Regions from separate parts of the Homo sapiens genome. Here all the other regions are linked to region 1. The links are contacts of gene promoters, found by promoter capture Hi-C in human tissues and cell types (Jung and others, 2019). All regions are on one chromosome and are shown on one strand. Each heading gives the region's core, a stretch centred on a gene start or on the middle of the fragment in contact. The rest is flanking DNA. Distances are from core to core; before and after follow the strand shown. Region 1 holds the start of PSMF1 (proteasome inhibitor subunit 1). Region 2 holds the start of SRXN1 (sulfiredoxin 1). Region 3 overlaps SIRPB2 (signal regulatory protein beta 2).

Region 1 (5,104 bases), core at 962-3,461:
GGAGTGAGGTACATGAGGAGGGACAGAGTGCAAAGCAGAGCTGTTCCATCTGAAGGACAAGACAAAGGGCAGGGGGAGCTGAGGGCCAATGGAGGAGATCCCAGGTCAAAATCAAATCTTACTCCTCTTCTCAGCCCCACTGTCCCCTGCACCATCCCACATACCAGTTTCTTTGAAGAATCTAGGAAAAGTTGAAATAAAATGACTGGGGCAAGTGAAGAGCTGCTTAAGATTAAAAAGCTGGAGTAAGACAAGTGGGGAGACAAGATTTCTGTTAGGGGAACTATGCATTGAAAGAGGGGCCTGACGCTGAAATGGGGGTGCTGTCTCTACCTGGTCCCAAGGTCTGAAATGCTGGAAGACATTTGGAAGGTATGTGGAATGAAGAGCAGCACAAAGAGAAAGGTCAGGGACAGATGTGTTTGGGAAGGTGAAATGATTCCTGCTTCCAGGTATGTGTGTGTGAAAGGCTAGCTGTTCTTTTCCATCCTCATATCTAGTCTTAGAGCCCATTTGAGAGATGAAGTATGTGTGAGTTTGGAGGTGGGAATGGGGATCCTGAGTGTGTACCTGGGGTCCCAGTGAGATAATTGAGGTCTGGGGAAAAAAAGAGCCAGAAATCCCTGACGGTTCTTGTGTTCTGATTCCTGCTGGAGGGGGTAAAGTGTGAGAGGGGTATGGTGGTCTTGGTCTTTAGTTCTAAGAGACAGAGAGGAATAGGGACAGCAGTGAGGGGTGGGGGAAAGGGGATACTTGTCTAAGTGCTCAGAATGTACAAAGCAAGTTTGAAGAGAGGTCCCTAAAGCTATGTCAGGAGGGGAGAATTAAGACTCTATTTGAGAAGCTAAAAAAAATGATTAGAGGAGTTGAGAACTGAAGCAGTCAAAAAGGAGAGGAAGGGTGAAATCTCATGGCAAGATGCAATAGGTGGGGTGGTCTGTTTCCCATGGCTAGTCTTGGTTCTGAGAGTGAGAGAACAGTGACAGTGAGGGGCAGGCATGGAGGCAGGCCCACTTCTCCCAGGAAGCAGATGTCTAGGATGATGTGGATGTTGGGGATGAGGGTCACAGGGAAGAGACAGGAAAGAAAGAAGAATGCCAGAGCAAAGAATTAGTGAGGTGGGTTGGGTCCAGCAGTCCTAGAACTCTGTGGGGATGACAACGACGTCCCTAGCTGTAAGAGGTGGAGCCTGGGGATGGGAGAAGAGGGGCTGGCCCTATGGGGACAACTATGAGGAGAAAATCTTATATGACCCTCACACCCAGGGTGTATGTGTGTACGACTCTGGGGGTGATTGCTTCCTAGAGCTTGAGTTGGGGATGGCAGTAGCGAGTGGACTATGCTGGGCCCTTCAGTAAAGGGTGAAAGGCGTGTGAACTCTCTGGGCCCATGCTAACGGGTGAAAAAAGGGCCCTGGCCTGGGGCTGAGTAGGTCAAAGCTCACTCCTGTACCTGTGCTTGGATCCAGATGTTTGGTGGAGGCTCTACTGTGGTATGAGGGCGGAACTGAGTCAGTCCCCTCACCCCGAGGCTGGGTGGTAAGGAGTTCAGACGGGATCAGGTGGGTGAGAAGTGCTCTGGGGAGCTAAACTCCTGTCTAGATTCTTTGCCATTCTATGGAATGCTAGATCCACACAGTCCTGGCCTGAGAGGCTGCCAGGCTGTGTTGAAGCGAGTGTCCGCCCTTGAGTTTACAAATCATGTTGTGCCAGCTGTGCCGTGAGGGACTCTGGGCTGGGATGGGGCAGGTGAGCAACCTCCGACCCGCAGGTTTTACCAACGCTGCCATCTGCCCCAGACCCTGCACTGGGAGAAGCGGGGAAATCGGGCGCTCTGGACCAGGCCTCCGGTACTCTGAGTTTGGGCAGAAGACAGTTCCCTCCTCCACCCTGGCCGGCTCCGTGGCGTACCTGGTCACCGACACCCAAGCCGAAGTAACCGTGTGTCACCACTTCCCAATGCAAGAAGCAGACGAGCGCGTCCTGCCTGCAGGTGATGGCCGGCGCTGCCGATGCGAACAGTACCTCCAGGCCCGCCATGAGCGCCCGCGACTTCGGCGTCTGGAGGAAAGAAGGGGGCGGGGGTAGTGCAGTGAGCCGGCTCCGCGGCCGGGGTAGCTATAACTCTGCTTCCCTCTTGCGCTGGTTCTTGCCGAGTCCACACCTGAGACCAAAATGGAGACGCCCGGGGACGGGGCGGGGCGGGGAAGCCGGAAGTAGTCCCAACAGCGGGCGCAACTGCGTGAGGCGCGCCGGGTTGGCAACGCGAGCGCAGCACTGAAAGGTTCCGCCAGGGAGTGCGAGCGGGGCGTGGCCCCTCAAAGCCGGAAGCCGGGTCTTGGCGGCAGTCGACAGGATCGCCTGACGCGGGCACAGCGTCCTCCAAGAGGCCACCTTGCTGAGAGGCAGACTTCCCATCCACAAAATGGGGTATGCTAGGCCGGGGAAGGGGCTGGGAAATGTGGCTAAAATACATTCTTAATAATCGTTAACACGTTCGCCGTGCTTGCTACCGTCCACATTATTCTAAACGCTTTACTTGTATTCATTTATTTAATCTTCACAACCCAACTCTATGCAGTTGATATTAACGATTAATGTGCCTCATTGCACAGATGAGGAAACTGAGGCGCAGAGGGATAATTTGACCAAGATGACAACAGCCAGCCGGTGAACGGCTGAAATGGTTATGGGAACCTGGCAGTCTGGCTTCTAAGATAACATTTATTAAGTGTTTATTGTGTGCTACATCGTGCGCTAAAACCTTTACATCACCCTCTCAACAACTCTATGAAGTATGGACCGTTATTATCCCCATTTTGCAGATGACAAAACGGCTCAGAGTTGAAACCACTTCTCCAAGGAGACACAACTGCTGCCCGCAGAGCTGAAGCTCCTGACCCACTATCAAATTTCAATCATTTATTTGCCTACCCCCTTTATGATTTTTACCACCCGTTACTTCAACAAGTTTCATGAAATCCACTTATTGTTTTTACCCAAATAAATTTAGTTTCCCCATCCCAGTCACTAACCTGGTTCAAGCTCCTGTCATCTTTCACTTGGATGCCTGGCATCAGCCTCAGAACTGCCCCATTCCATTCCTGTCTCTCTCTAGTCTGTACTGCACTCCGCAACCAGAGAGATTCTGTTAGAAAACAAGTCAGATCGGCCAGGTGTGGCGGCTCATGCCTGTAATCCCAGCACTTTGTGAGGCCGAGGCAGGCGGATCACTTGAGGTCAGGAGTTTGAGACCAGCCTGGCCAACATGGTGAAACCCTGTCTCTACTAAAAATACAAAAATTAGCTGGGTGTGGTGGCGCACGCCTTTAGTCCCAGGTACTCGGGAGGCTGAGGCATGAGAATCAATCGAACCCGGGAGGTGGAGGTGGAGGTTGCAGTGAGCCAAGATCGCACCATTGCACTTCAGCCTGGGCAACAGAGCGATCTTCTGTCTCAAAAAAGAAAAAAAAAAAAAAAGAAAAGTCAGATCACATCCGTTGGCTCAAAATCGTCACACTCAATGGAAAAGTAAAGTCCTCCCCATGGTCTGCAGGAATCTGCATGTGGTCTGCCATCTCCTGCCCCAGCCCTGCCAGCCCTGTACCTCTCTGATTCAGTCTCCTTCAACTGTCCTCTCATCCCCTTTATACGTGCAATAACCTTGGCTCCCCCTCTTCTCTCACATCTACATCTGGTCCAACAGCAAAGCTAGTTGACTCCACTCTCAAAATATATTATGAATCTGACCACTTCCCATCACCTTCACTGCTTCCACTCTGGTCTGATCCTCCAGCATCTCACACTTAGACTATTGCAGTAGCTTCCCAGCCAGTTTCCCTGTTTCATGTGTTCTGTTTGGGCCTTTGCGTTCCTCTTCCTGGAATGCTCTTTTCCCAGATATCTGCATGTCTTGCTTCTTCATTTCAAGTGGCTTCATCCCTCACTCCTACCATCCTCAACAGAGGGCTTCCCAGACCATTCCATCCAAAATAACCTTCTCCCGTCTTTAATCCCTCTCTGGCTTTTTTTTTTTCCTGCAAAGCATTAATCATAACCTGAAACTATGTTAGGTGTTTATTTCTTTGCTTATTTAATGACTGTCTTTCCACTAGACTGTGACAAAGGAACAGGGAGCATGTCTACCTTGTGCACATATGTACCTGAGTGCCTTCTGGGATCAATCTATACTTATTGAAAGACAGAATGAATACTGAATGAAGGAATGAATTCTTGGCCTAGCCCCAACCCAGTCAGGGCACTCTTACCTCTTTATAGTCCATCACTCCCTTTGTCAGCTGGCCCTGTGCCTCTCCAAATTTTGTGTTCCTAAAGTTTCCTTGAGACAACCAGATTCTTGAACCCCTTCTGCAGAGATTCTGGATGAGAAGGTCTGAGGAAGAGTGCATGTATGTTGACTACATTCTGGATGACACTAAAGCTAGTGGCTGTGGAACTCCTCTCTGAGATGTACTGCCTGTGGCATAAAGCTATTTGCCCTTTCTACTGAGAAGTTCTGCACTTTCAGTCTTCCCTGCTTTTGCTTGCTCTGTCCCTTCTGTTTGTAATGCCCTTATCCAATTATGGAAAATTTCTACAGATTCATTCCATCAATAAACTTTCATAGGCTGGGCTGCCATGAACCATAGTGCAGGGTGTCCACTTAAGGTGCCTACTTAGTGGCAGCCCATTCCTAAGTGCCTACTGTGGGCCAGACACAGATGAACAGGTTCCTGTCCCTATAGAGCTCACTGTCTAGTGTTTAAAAAAAAAAAAAAGTACTGGCCAGGCATGGTGGCTCACACCTGTAATCCCAGCACTTTGGGAGGCTGAGGCAGGTGGATCACGAGGTCAGGAGTTCAAGACCAGCCTGGCCAACATGGTGAAACCCTGTCTCTACTAAAAATACAAAAATTAGCCGGGCGTGGTGGCAGGCACCTGTAATCCCAGCTATTCGGGAGGCTGAGGCAGGAGAATCGCTTGAACCCGGGAGGTAGAGGTTGCAGTGAGCCGAGATCAAGCCACTGCACTCTAGCCTGGGTGATAAAGAGAGACTGTCTCAAAAAAAAAAAAAAAGTGGATTAAGGATCAAAAGGTGTTCCAGT
Region 2 (5,104 bases), core at 1,848-4,347, 470 kb after region 1:
ATACATCAAGCCTAGTCTGAAAGTGAAGACACGGAGAGACGTTCAAGCTCTGTTACAATTTAAAATGCAATCAAACAGCAAACATTTATTGAGCACTTATAATGCGTTGTGCACTGTTTTAAGGACCTCACCTAACACCATCTCTCTTCACTCTTCCAACACCCCTGTGAATTAGGTGACATTATGTCCGTTTTACAGATTAGGAAACAGGCACAGACAGGTGACTGGCCCAAGGTCACACATCTAATAAAATAGTGCAATTTTAACCCAGGCAAGGTACAGAACTATAGGGGATGACCCAGTATCAAGTTTCCCTTTTGTTTTAGTTTTGGTTCCCTGATAGCAAGTCTGAGACTTGAGTGTAAGTCGTTTATGTGGGAGGTGATCCCTGGAAGCAGAAGTAAGGGGTGGGAGGAATGGGACAGAGGGTGTGTTAGTGAAGTCAGTTGTAGCAATAGGGCTGAGTACTTCTGGTCTCTGAGAAGGTTCCAGAAAGATCTGAATGGTCTAGAACACCTCTCTGAATCGTCCACCTGTGACAGCACAAGACTGGCATTTACTCACCGGCTCCTGCCCCCATTAGTGAATGGCCTGGCACCTCTGGAATGGGCAGAGCTCCCACAGGGATGCCCCATCTATCAAATGGGGATGGAGATAACAGACTCGTCTCATAAAGCTGTTAGGTTCCATGAGTTAATATATGTAAAGCGCATCAAACCATGCTGGGCACATGGAGAGCACTCAGTAATGTATGCTATGTATGACCTGAGGGAAGAGCGTTCCATGCACAGGGAACAGCAAATGTAAAGGGTCTGAGGCCAGGACACATTCGCTGTGGAAGAGGCACAGCAAGGAGGCCAGTGTGACTAGAGTTGACTCCGGGGCTTGAGGAGTGGAAGGTCAGAAGGTGTGAGCCACTGCATCCAGCCAGGGAAGGTTTCTTCACTCTTAAAAAGAGGCTCGAAGGGATGTCCTAACTTCCACTTGTGGACATTCGCATGTAATGATGTGATGTTTTGAGCTACAGTAGCCATCTTGGGACCATGAGGGGCACACCGCAGGATAACAGAACACCAAGGATGATGGCACAAAAGGATAGACAGAACCAGGGTCTTTTTTTTCTGAGAGAGTCTCACTCTCTCACCCAGGCTGTAGTGCAACGGCATGATCTCAGCTCACTGCAACCTCTGCCTCTCGGTTTCAAGCAATTCTCCTGTCTCAGCCTCTGGAGTAACTGGGACTACAGGCGCGCGCCACCATGCCTGCCTAATTTTTGTACTTTTGGTAGAGACAGGGTTTCACTATGTTGGCTAGGCTGGTCTCGAACTCCTGGCCTCAAGTGATTCGCCTGCCTCAGCCTTCCAAAGTGCTGGGATTACAGGTGTGAGCCACCGGGCCCAGCCAGAACTGGAGTCTTTGGTCACATTGTTCAACTGCCTCTTTACCAACCTTGGACATACCTACCTCCAAACATTTTATTATGTGAGAAAACAAACCTTCTTATTGCTTAAGCCATTTTGAATTGGGCCATAGATATCTTAACACAGAGAATTTGATACCAGGAAATGAGGCCTCCCTGGGTACACCATGATGATAGAATCAGGCCAGAGCTCCACTTTTCCACTCTAGAAACTGTTATCCTGCCATTCTTACTTCCTGTAATGAGGAAGATGTTTTAGAAGGGATAACTTCCCTCTTGATGAAATTCTCTAATTCTGAATAATTCTGGGGCTGAGGTGTGGGTGTCAGTTCTACTTCTTGAAATAAAGTATCATTTAGGTGCGCACGGGAATTATGTTTCGAAAGGGAAAGGCTGGAGTCTTGGTGTCAGTGTTCTAAGGTTTTGTGAGAGACTAAGAACCCAAAATAAATGATCTTCAACAGCAAAATGGATGTTATGCAATTCACAGAGCACTATGAGCACTCTCTCAATTCACACAACTTTGAGTGATGGGCAGCATGACTTCATTTTACAGACGGGGTTCAGAAAGTGTCAGCAACTGGTGGAAGGCAAAGTAGAAACTCCTGGCTCCCTCCTTCGTCTCCAGTTTTCTCCAGCTGGCAGGGTAAGTATGCATTTCTCCATGTTCGTGCCATTCAGGTTGAGAAGGAAGACAAGCAAACCAGACATGCTTGTCTTCGACCGAGTCTGGGATCGTCCACCTTCCTGCTTGGAGTTGGTGGTTAAGTGGCCCCACAGTTTGGACTCGTGTGACCTGACTTTCATTTCAGCTGACCTTGAACAGCGGGTCTATAACTGCACCTACTTCCAGTAGTGTTGTAATGACACAAACAGACAGTGTGGAACTTGAAGGCAGGGCCCACCCATTGTCAGCGCGACTCCTGAGGGCTCCGTGTGACAGTCACTGTTGCTGAACCAAGGCAGCCAACGGTGGGGTAGAAGGCGGACTCTGGAGCCAGACCGTCTGGATTTGAACGCGGATTCGGCCACTTACTAGTTCCGTGATCTTGGGTACATCACTTAAACCTGTGTCTCAGTCTCCTCTTCTGTAAAATGGGAATAACAGTCATACCTTCCTTGCAGGGTTGTTTTGAGGTTCAGATACGTTAATACACGTGCAAAATGTTCGGAACGACTCCAGACACAGCCGGCGCCAGACTGGAAGTGGAACCGCTGGTGGGGATCATAACCTCGCTGGCTAGGAACCCCAGCAGCGGGGCAGCAGCGCACCGCGGGCTTTGCCGACTCACCCTGGCTGGGCAGGTCCGCCGCGCTCTCCCCCGCCCCCGCCCCCGCGGCCTAAGTCGGCCCGGCCGGTGCGTCACCCGCGCCCCTCCCGCCCCGCGACCTGCAAACTCACCCTGAGTCAGCCCGCCCGGGCGTTTCCACTCCCCGGACGCCGCGCGGCGCAGGGGAGGCGAGAGGCGCCCCCCGGTGGAGAGCCTGAGCCCCGCGCGAGTCTGGCGGCACCTGGCGAGCGGAGCCGGAGTCGGGCTGGGGACCGCGGGGTCGAGGCCGGACCGCGGCGGGGTCGGGGGAGAAACGCGCGCTGCCCTGGCACGGGCCCCCCCCCCCGGCCGCGCGGAATGGTATGGCCCGGCCGGAGTTAAGGCCGGGGGGAGGCGGCGAGTCCCGCGGCGGCGGCGACGATGGGGCTGCGTGCAGGAGGAACGCTGGGCAGGGCCGGCGCGGGTCGGGGGGCGCCCGAGGGGCCCGGGCCGAGCGGCGGCGCGCAGGGCGGCAGCATCCACTCGGGCCGCATCGCCGCGGTGCACAACGTGCCGCTGAGCGTGCTCATCCGGCCGCTGCCGTCCGTGTTGGACCCCGCCAAGGTGCAGAGCCTCGTGGACACGATCCGGGTGAGGCCTCGGGGAGTCCAGCCAACCGGAGGGAGGGCTTCGGAGGAGGGAGGTTGCCGGAGGAGGGAGGTCGCTGCGATGGACGCGAGACGGACTGGTTCCGGGCCCAGCCGGAGCTCAGCCTCTGCTGTGTGACCTTGAGCAAGTAGCTGGGCCTCTCTGGGCCTCTGTTTCCTCACTTGAGCAAGGAGGGAATTGGGCGAGATAATTAAAGTAGTGATGATAACGCTTATAACGCTAGTGCTTGCAGTGGTCCAGGAACTGCAGGAAGTCCCTCAGTTTCCTATGCCAACCCTAGGAGGTAGATAGTGGCTCTTTTGCAGACGAGAACTGAGGCAGGGAAGATTTCAGCGGCTTGACTAAGATCAGGCGCTTAAAAAGTGACACGGCTGGAATTCACACCCAGGCAGCCTGGGCCCCACTGCCCAGCACATGGCCACCGCACTACCCGGAGATAAGCCGTGGGCTCTCATGGCTGTGACAGTCAGTGACAGTGGGACTAGGTGTGTCATATCTGCTGGGAGGCCCTTGTCTGAATGGGAAGTGGGAGAGGTCAAGGGTCAGCTCCACCACTGAGGAAGGGTGTTAAGAATACCGGAGTGATTCTGGCAGGAACTTGGGGGCCCCGCAAGAACAGGTGTCAGGTTAGGCCTACATAACGTTGTGTCCCCTTCCCCCGACCCTTGGAAGGTGAGCACATGAGATCCCTAAGCCCCACCCAGCACCTCTACAGCCACCCCCGATAACTTTCAGTCCTAGTATTTACACTAGTGTCCTCACTGCCTGGAGCCACTTCCCCAGACAACCACAGGGCCTGCTCCCCTGCCTGGTTCAGCTCTCTGCCTCCTTGATCACCCTTGGTCAGAGTCACTGGCCTCTCTAGCTCTCCCCTTAGCCCGAGATGTTTTTCAGGATACCACTTATGTCCACCAGAAATTATATTATACATCTATTTGTGTTGCATTTTATTTTCTGTCTTCCTGACCTCACGTGCACTCCACAAGGGCGAGGACCTCGTCCCATCTTATCTGTTGCCACAATAGTAGCACGGCGCCTGGCTGAGATGGGAAGGGATCTGCCATGCATGCCCTGTCCCACCACTGGGCTTTTTCTCCCGTTGAGAACCTCTTCTATCTCTGCCTTGTCGTTTCTCACTCTTTCTCGGTCTTCCTGTCTCAGTGTCAGGATCTTCCCTGACCATCCCTACCGGGTTAGGAGCTTCTGTGGGCCTGCAGCCACCTGTGTGCCCACCTGCATAGCTCTGATCTCACTGGCTTTTTTTTTTTTTTTTTAAGACGTTGTCTGGGTCTGTCACCCTGGCTGGAGTGCAGTGGCACGATCTTGGCTCACTGCAACCTCCGCCTCCCGGGTTCAAGCCATTCTCCTGCCTCAGCCTCCCAAGTAGCTGGGATTACAGGCGCCCACCACCACGCCTGGCTAATTTTTGTATTTTTAGTAGAGATGGGGTTTCACCCTGTTGGCCAGGCTGGTCTGAAACTCCAGACCTCAAGCGATCTGCCCACCTCGGCCTCCCAAAGTGCTGGGATTACAGCCCACTGGCTTTTAACGTCCTGTCTAGACACCTGCCTTCCGTGCTAGAACCGTAGGCTCTGAGGGCCAGAACCAGCTCTGCCTTTGCTTACATACACCTGTATTAGTTTTCTGGGGCCACTGTAAGTTACCACAAAGTTGATGGCTTAAAACAACACAGGTTTATTTATGGTCAGAAGTCCAAAATGGGTCTTACTGGGCTAACACCAAGCAGGGCTGCACTACTTTCTGT
Region 3 (5,104 bases), core at 1,649-4,148, 360 kb before region 1:
TTTTTCAATTTTCTAAAAGTATTTGTATAAAATTGGTATTATCTCTTTCTTAAAGATATGGAAAATTTGGCTGGGCATGGTGACTCATGCCTGCAATCCCAGCAGTTTTGGAGGCTGAGGCAGGCGAATCACTTGAGGCCAGGAGTTCAAGACCAGCCTGGCTAACATGGCGAAACCCTGCCTCTACCAAAAATATAAAAATTAGCCGGGCATGGTGGTGCATGCCTGTAATCTCAGCTACTCAGGAGGCTGAGGCAGGAGAATCGCTTGAACCTGGGAGGCAGAGGTTGGAGTGAGCTGAGATCACGCCACCATATTCCAGCCTGGGTGACAGAGTGAGGCCCTGTCTCAAAAAAAAAAAAAAGAAAAGAAAAGAAAAGAAAAAGATATGGAAAATTCACAAATGAAACTTTCTTGGATTGGACCTTTATTTCTGGGAAGATTTTTAATAACAGATTGAACTTTTTAATAGATAATAGGGCTAACCAGGTTGTCTTTTTCTTCTTGAGAAAGCTTTGGCAGTGTATCTTTTTCAAGGAATTTGTTCATGTTACCTAATTTGTCAAATATGTATGACTTGAAGTTTTCCATAATATTCTTTTATTATTCTATTAATAAGAGTAAAATCTGTAGTAGTATCACCAATCTTATTCCTTATTTTAATAATTTAGGTTCTTTCTGTGTGTGTCCCCTCTGTTCAATCTGACTAGAGATTTATCAGTTTTAGTGATCTTCTCAAAGATTTTCTTCTTCTCATTGATTTTTTCTGTGTGTGTGTGTGTGTGTGGTGTGTGTGTGTGTGTGTGTGTTCTACTGTATTAAGTTTCATTTCCAGCTTGATGATTTCCTTTCTTTCACTACTTTGAGTTTAGTTTATTGGCCTTTTTTTCTAGTTTCTTAAGGTGGAAAGTGGGTAATTTATTTGAGTCCTTTCTTCTTTCCAAATATAGGCATTTAATACTACAAACTTCCCCTTGCTTTAACAGAATCCCGCAAATTTTTATATTATGTTTTCATTTTCCTTCAGTTCAAAATATTTTCCAATTTTTCTTTTTTAATCGATACATAACATTTGTACATATTTATGGGGTTCATGTAATACTTTGTTCCATGCATAGGATGTGTAATAAATGAGTCAAAGTATTTAGGATATCCATCACCTCATGTATTTTTCATTTATCTGTGTTAGGAACATTTTAAGTCCTCTCTTCAAGCTATTTTGAAATCTACAATACATTGTTGTTAACTACAGTTACCATACTCTGATATCAAATGGCAGGATCTTATTCCTTCTATCTAACTGTATGTTTGTACCCATTAACAAATCTCTCTCATGCCCCTCTCCCTACACTCACTTTTCCCCACGTCTGGTATCATTCTACCCTCTGCTTTCATGAGATCAATTTTTTTAGCTTCCACGTATGAGTGAAAACATGTGATGTTTGTCTTTCTGTGCCTGGCTTATTTCACTTAACATAATGAACTCCATCTTCATTCATGTTGCTACGAATGACAGAATTTCATTTGTTTTTATAGCCAAATAGTATTCCATACTGGCCATCCAGTAGTGGTATTGCTGGGTGATATGGCATTTCTATTTTTAGTTTGTTGAGAAGTCTCCATACTGTTTTTCATAGTGGCTGTACTAATTTACATTCCCACCAACCATGTATAAAGTTTCCTTTTCTTTGCAACCTTACCAGCATATATTTGTGGTGGTTTGTTTATTTATTTTGTTTTTTTTTTTTATTGTTGCCTTTTTAACAGTCGTTCCAACTGGGGTAAGATGATATCTCATTGTGGTTTTGATTTGCATTTCCCCGATGATTAGTAATGTTGAGCATTTTTTCATGTGCCTGTTGGCCATTTGTATGTCTTCTTTTGAGAGATGTTGATTCATGTCCTTTGCCCACTTTTTAATGAGATTTTTTTTAACTGTTGAGTTGTTTGAGTTTCCTGTATATTTTGGATATTAGATTAGTCCCCTGTCAGGTGAGTACTTTGCAAATATTTTCTCTCATTCAAGAGTTTGTCTCTTCACTGTGTTGATAGTTGCTTTTGTTATGAAGAAGCTTTTTAGTTTAATATAGTCCCATTTGTCTATTTTTGTCTTAGTTGCCTGACCCTTTTGAGGTCTTAGTCATAAAATCTTTACCTATACCAGTGTCCTGGAGTCCCTTCCCTGTTTTCTCCTAGTAGTTTTTATAGTTTTAGGTCCTACAGTTAGATCTTTAATTCATCTTTAGTTGATTTTGGTATATGGTGAGAAATAGCAGTCTACCTTTATTCTTCTGCATATGGATATCCAGTTTTTCCAGCACCATTTATTGAATGTGTATTCTTGATACCTTTGCCAAAAATCAATTGGCTGTAAATACATGGATTTATTTCTGTGTTTTCTATTCTGTGCCATTGGTCTATTATACCATTGGTCTATGTATTCTATGCCCTTGGTCTATTATACCAATACACATCCCAATCAAGAAGAAATTTACAAAATCCCAGAAAAAGAACACAAAATATCGATACTAAGGAAGATCAGTAAGATACAAGATAATTCTGAAAAACAATACAAAGAAATCAGAAAACACTCCAAGACATTGCTCTAGGCAAAGGTTTTGTGGCTAAGACTTCGAAAGACAGGCAACAAAGGCAAAAAAAAGACAAATGGGACTATATTAAACTAAAAAGCTTCTGCACTGCAGAAAAATAATCAAAAGAGTGAAGAGACAACCTCCTGAATGAGAGATAATATTCACAAAGTACCCATTTGACAAGGGACTAATATCTGGAATATACAAGGAACTCAAACAATTCAACAGTTAAAAAAGCAAACAAACAAATAAATAATCTAATTAAAAATGAGCAAAGGAAAGGAATGAATAAACATTTCCCAAAGAAGACATACAAATGGCCTAGAGGTATATGAAAAAATATGCTCAACATCACTCATCAGGGAAATGCAAATCAAAACCATAATGAGATATCGTCTTATCCCAGTTAGAATGGCTATTGTTAAAAAGACCCAAAAAAAGGCCAGGTGCTGTGGCTCGTGCCTGTAATCCCAGCACTATGGGAGGCTGAGGTGGGCAGATCACCTGAGGTCAGGGGTTCGAGACCAGCCTGACCAACATGGTGAAATTCTGTCCCTACTAAAAATACAAACATTAGCCAAGTGTAGTGTCATGTGCCTGTAATCCCAGCTACTCAGGAGCCTGAGGCAGGAGAATCACTTGACCCCAGGAGGCGGAGGTTGCAGTGAGCTGAGATGGTGCCACTGCACTCGAGCCTGGGTGACAGAGCAAGACTCCCTCTCAAAAAAAAAAAAAAAATGATGAGGATGAGGAGAAAAGGGAACTCTTATACACTATTGGTGGGAATGTAAATTAGTACAGCCACTATGGAAAACAGTATGGAGATTTCTCAAAAATCTAAAAATAGAACTGCCATATGATCCAGCAATCCTAGAACAGGTATTTATCTACAGGAAAAGAAATCAATATATCAAAGGAGTGCATGCATTTCTACGTTTATTGCAGCAATATTCACAATTGCAAATGTATGGAATCAATCTAAGCGTCAATCAATGGATGAATTGATAAAAAAAATACATATATATAGTGTCCCCAAGCACACCCACAATGGAATACTATTCAACCGTGAAAAAAAAATAATGAAATCATGTAGTCATTCACAGCAACACGGATGGAACTGGAGATTATTATGTTAAGTGAAGTAAGCTGTACTCAGGAGGCTGAGGTGGGAGAACTGCTTGAACCTGGGAGGCGGAGGTTGCAGTGAGCCGAGATAGTGCCATTGCACTCCAAAAAGAAGGAAAGAAGGAAGGGAGGGAGGGAGGGAGGGAAGGAGAAAGAGAGAGAGGAAGGAAGGAAGGAAGGAAGAAAGGAAGAAAGAAAGGAAGGAAGGAGGGAAGGAAGGAAGGAGTGAGCCAGACACAGAAAGACAACTATGCAGGTGCTAAAAATGATCTCACGGAAGTAGAAACTATAATGATAGATACCAAAGACTAGGAAAGGTGATGGGTCTCAGGGAGAGGGGTTAAGAGTGAGGTTGGTGAATGGGTACAAACACACAGTTAGATAAAAGGAACAAATTTTAATGTTTGATAGCAGAGTAGGGTGACTATAATTCACAACAATGTATTGTTTTTCAGAACAGCTAGGAAAGAGGACCTGCAATGTACCCAACACATAGAAATAATAAATACTCAGGTGATGGATACCAGAAAAAAAAGAAACTTACAGTAGTAAACTCACATTTCTCCACTCCCAGTCTTTATTCTATCGATGTCATAACTTCTACATATACATGTGTTAGAAGCCTCACAATAGAATGTTATTTTTTTTTAAAATCAGTTTGGGGCCTTGCTTTTAAGATTTGTTGGGTGGACCAGAACACTTCTTTCTGGGCTGCATCTCTCTTCTGTGGACTTTCCCCAGTGCCCTGACAATCATGGGTTTTACCAGTTTGGCTGGTGGGAACAGGCACCATTCTTAGCCCTGTGCTGAGTGATGGGCACAGTCCTGTACGTGTGTGTGAGGAAACTCCCTGAGGCCAGGGAAAAAAACAGGAAGGATCAGTGATAACAGATCTGACTAGCTCAAATAATGTTTGAGAGTGGATGTCGCTGAATTTCTTGGAACTAAGGACATCAAGGACAGAAGCAATCCCTAGGATTCAACATGCGGTTATCACTTGGTCACAATTGTGAGAAAGTTATTCTTGGTGGTTAACAGCACATGCCTAGCTGAAGATAGGTAGAAATAGAATTTAGAATTCCATAAGTCTTTCCTAGACCCTCTTAGAAGGAAATGTTTGCTTCACCTTCTTACTCTCCTTGCCTCATTCACAACTGAGAAACACCATGATATACTGCAAACAAATGTGTGGAGTGAGACTGAGCTATTCACAAAGGCTGATGGGAATACAGACAAAAAGGAAACTCGGGGTACAAAGCTGCTGACCTTGAGTTGAGCAGAATCTTAAGTCACCTGATCTGAGTTCAAATCCTGGACACGATATCTACTGAATGCATGGTTCACCTCATGTTTCTTTACCACTGTGAGCATTCGTTTTCTTTCTC

Evidence for each region. Contacts are between HindIII fragments. The study calls those that stand out against the background at their distance.
Region 2: the fragment with the promoter of SRXN1 here is called in contact with the fragment with the promoter of PSMF1 in region 1 in 1 of the 25 tissues and cell types used here (lymphoblastoid cells).
Region 3: a contact is called between a fragment that was not itself captured here and the fragment with the promoter of PSMF1 in region 1, in 1 of the 25 tissues and cell types used here (dorsolateral prefrontal cortex).

What each region holds. Positions count from the first base shown.
Region 1 is chr20:1,115,709-1,120,812 of GRCh38, reverse strand. PSMF1 (proteasome inhibitor subunit 1) reads right to left here and starts at 2,211. Exons shown (of 7, transcript NM_006814.5): 1 at 1,911-2,211. The coding sequence starts at 2,039. LOC105372493 (a long non-coding RNA gene) reads left to right here and starts at 2,365. Exons shown (of 2, transcript NR_136535.1): 1 at 2,365-2,429; 2 at 2,825-2,961. RefSeq lists enhancers at 1,939-2,068, 2,109-2,298, 2,309-2,358, 2,369-2,418, 1,818-2,460. The HindIII fragment of the contact is 13,046 bases long and covers 1-5,104 here.
Region 2 is chr20:651,193-656,296 of GRCh38, reverse strand. SRXN1 (sulfiredoxin 1) reads left to right here and starts at 3,097. Exons shown (of 2, transcript NM_080725.3): 1 at 3,097-3,321. The coding sequence starts at 3,112. LOC107985423 (a long non-coding RNA gene) reads right to left here and starts at 3,344. Exons shown (of 2, transcript XR_001754452.2): 1 at 2,823-3,344; 2 at 1-2,508. RefSeq lists a silencer at 2,660-3,219. The HindIII fragment of the contact is 30,072 bases long and covers 1-5,104 here.
Region 3 is chr20:1,481,337-1,486,440 of GRCh38, reverse strand. All of the region lies in intron 1 of SIRPB2 (signal regulatory protein beta 2), which reads left to right. Among named protein-coding and RNA genes, the nearest start is that of SIRPB2, 7.5 kb to the left of the region's middle. The HindIII fragment of the contact is 3,209 bases long and covers 1,294-4,502 here.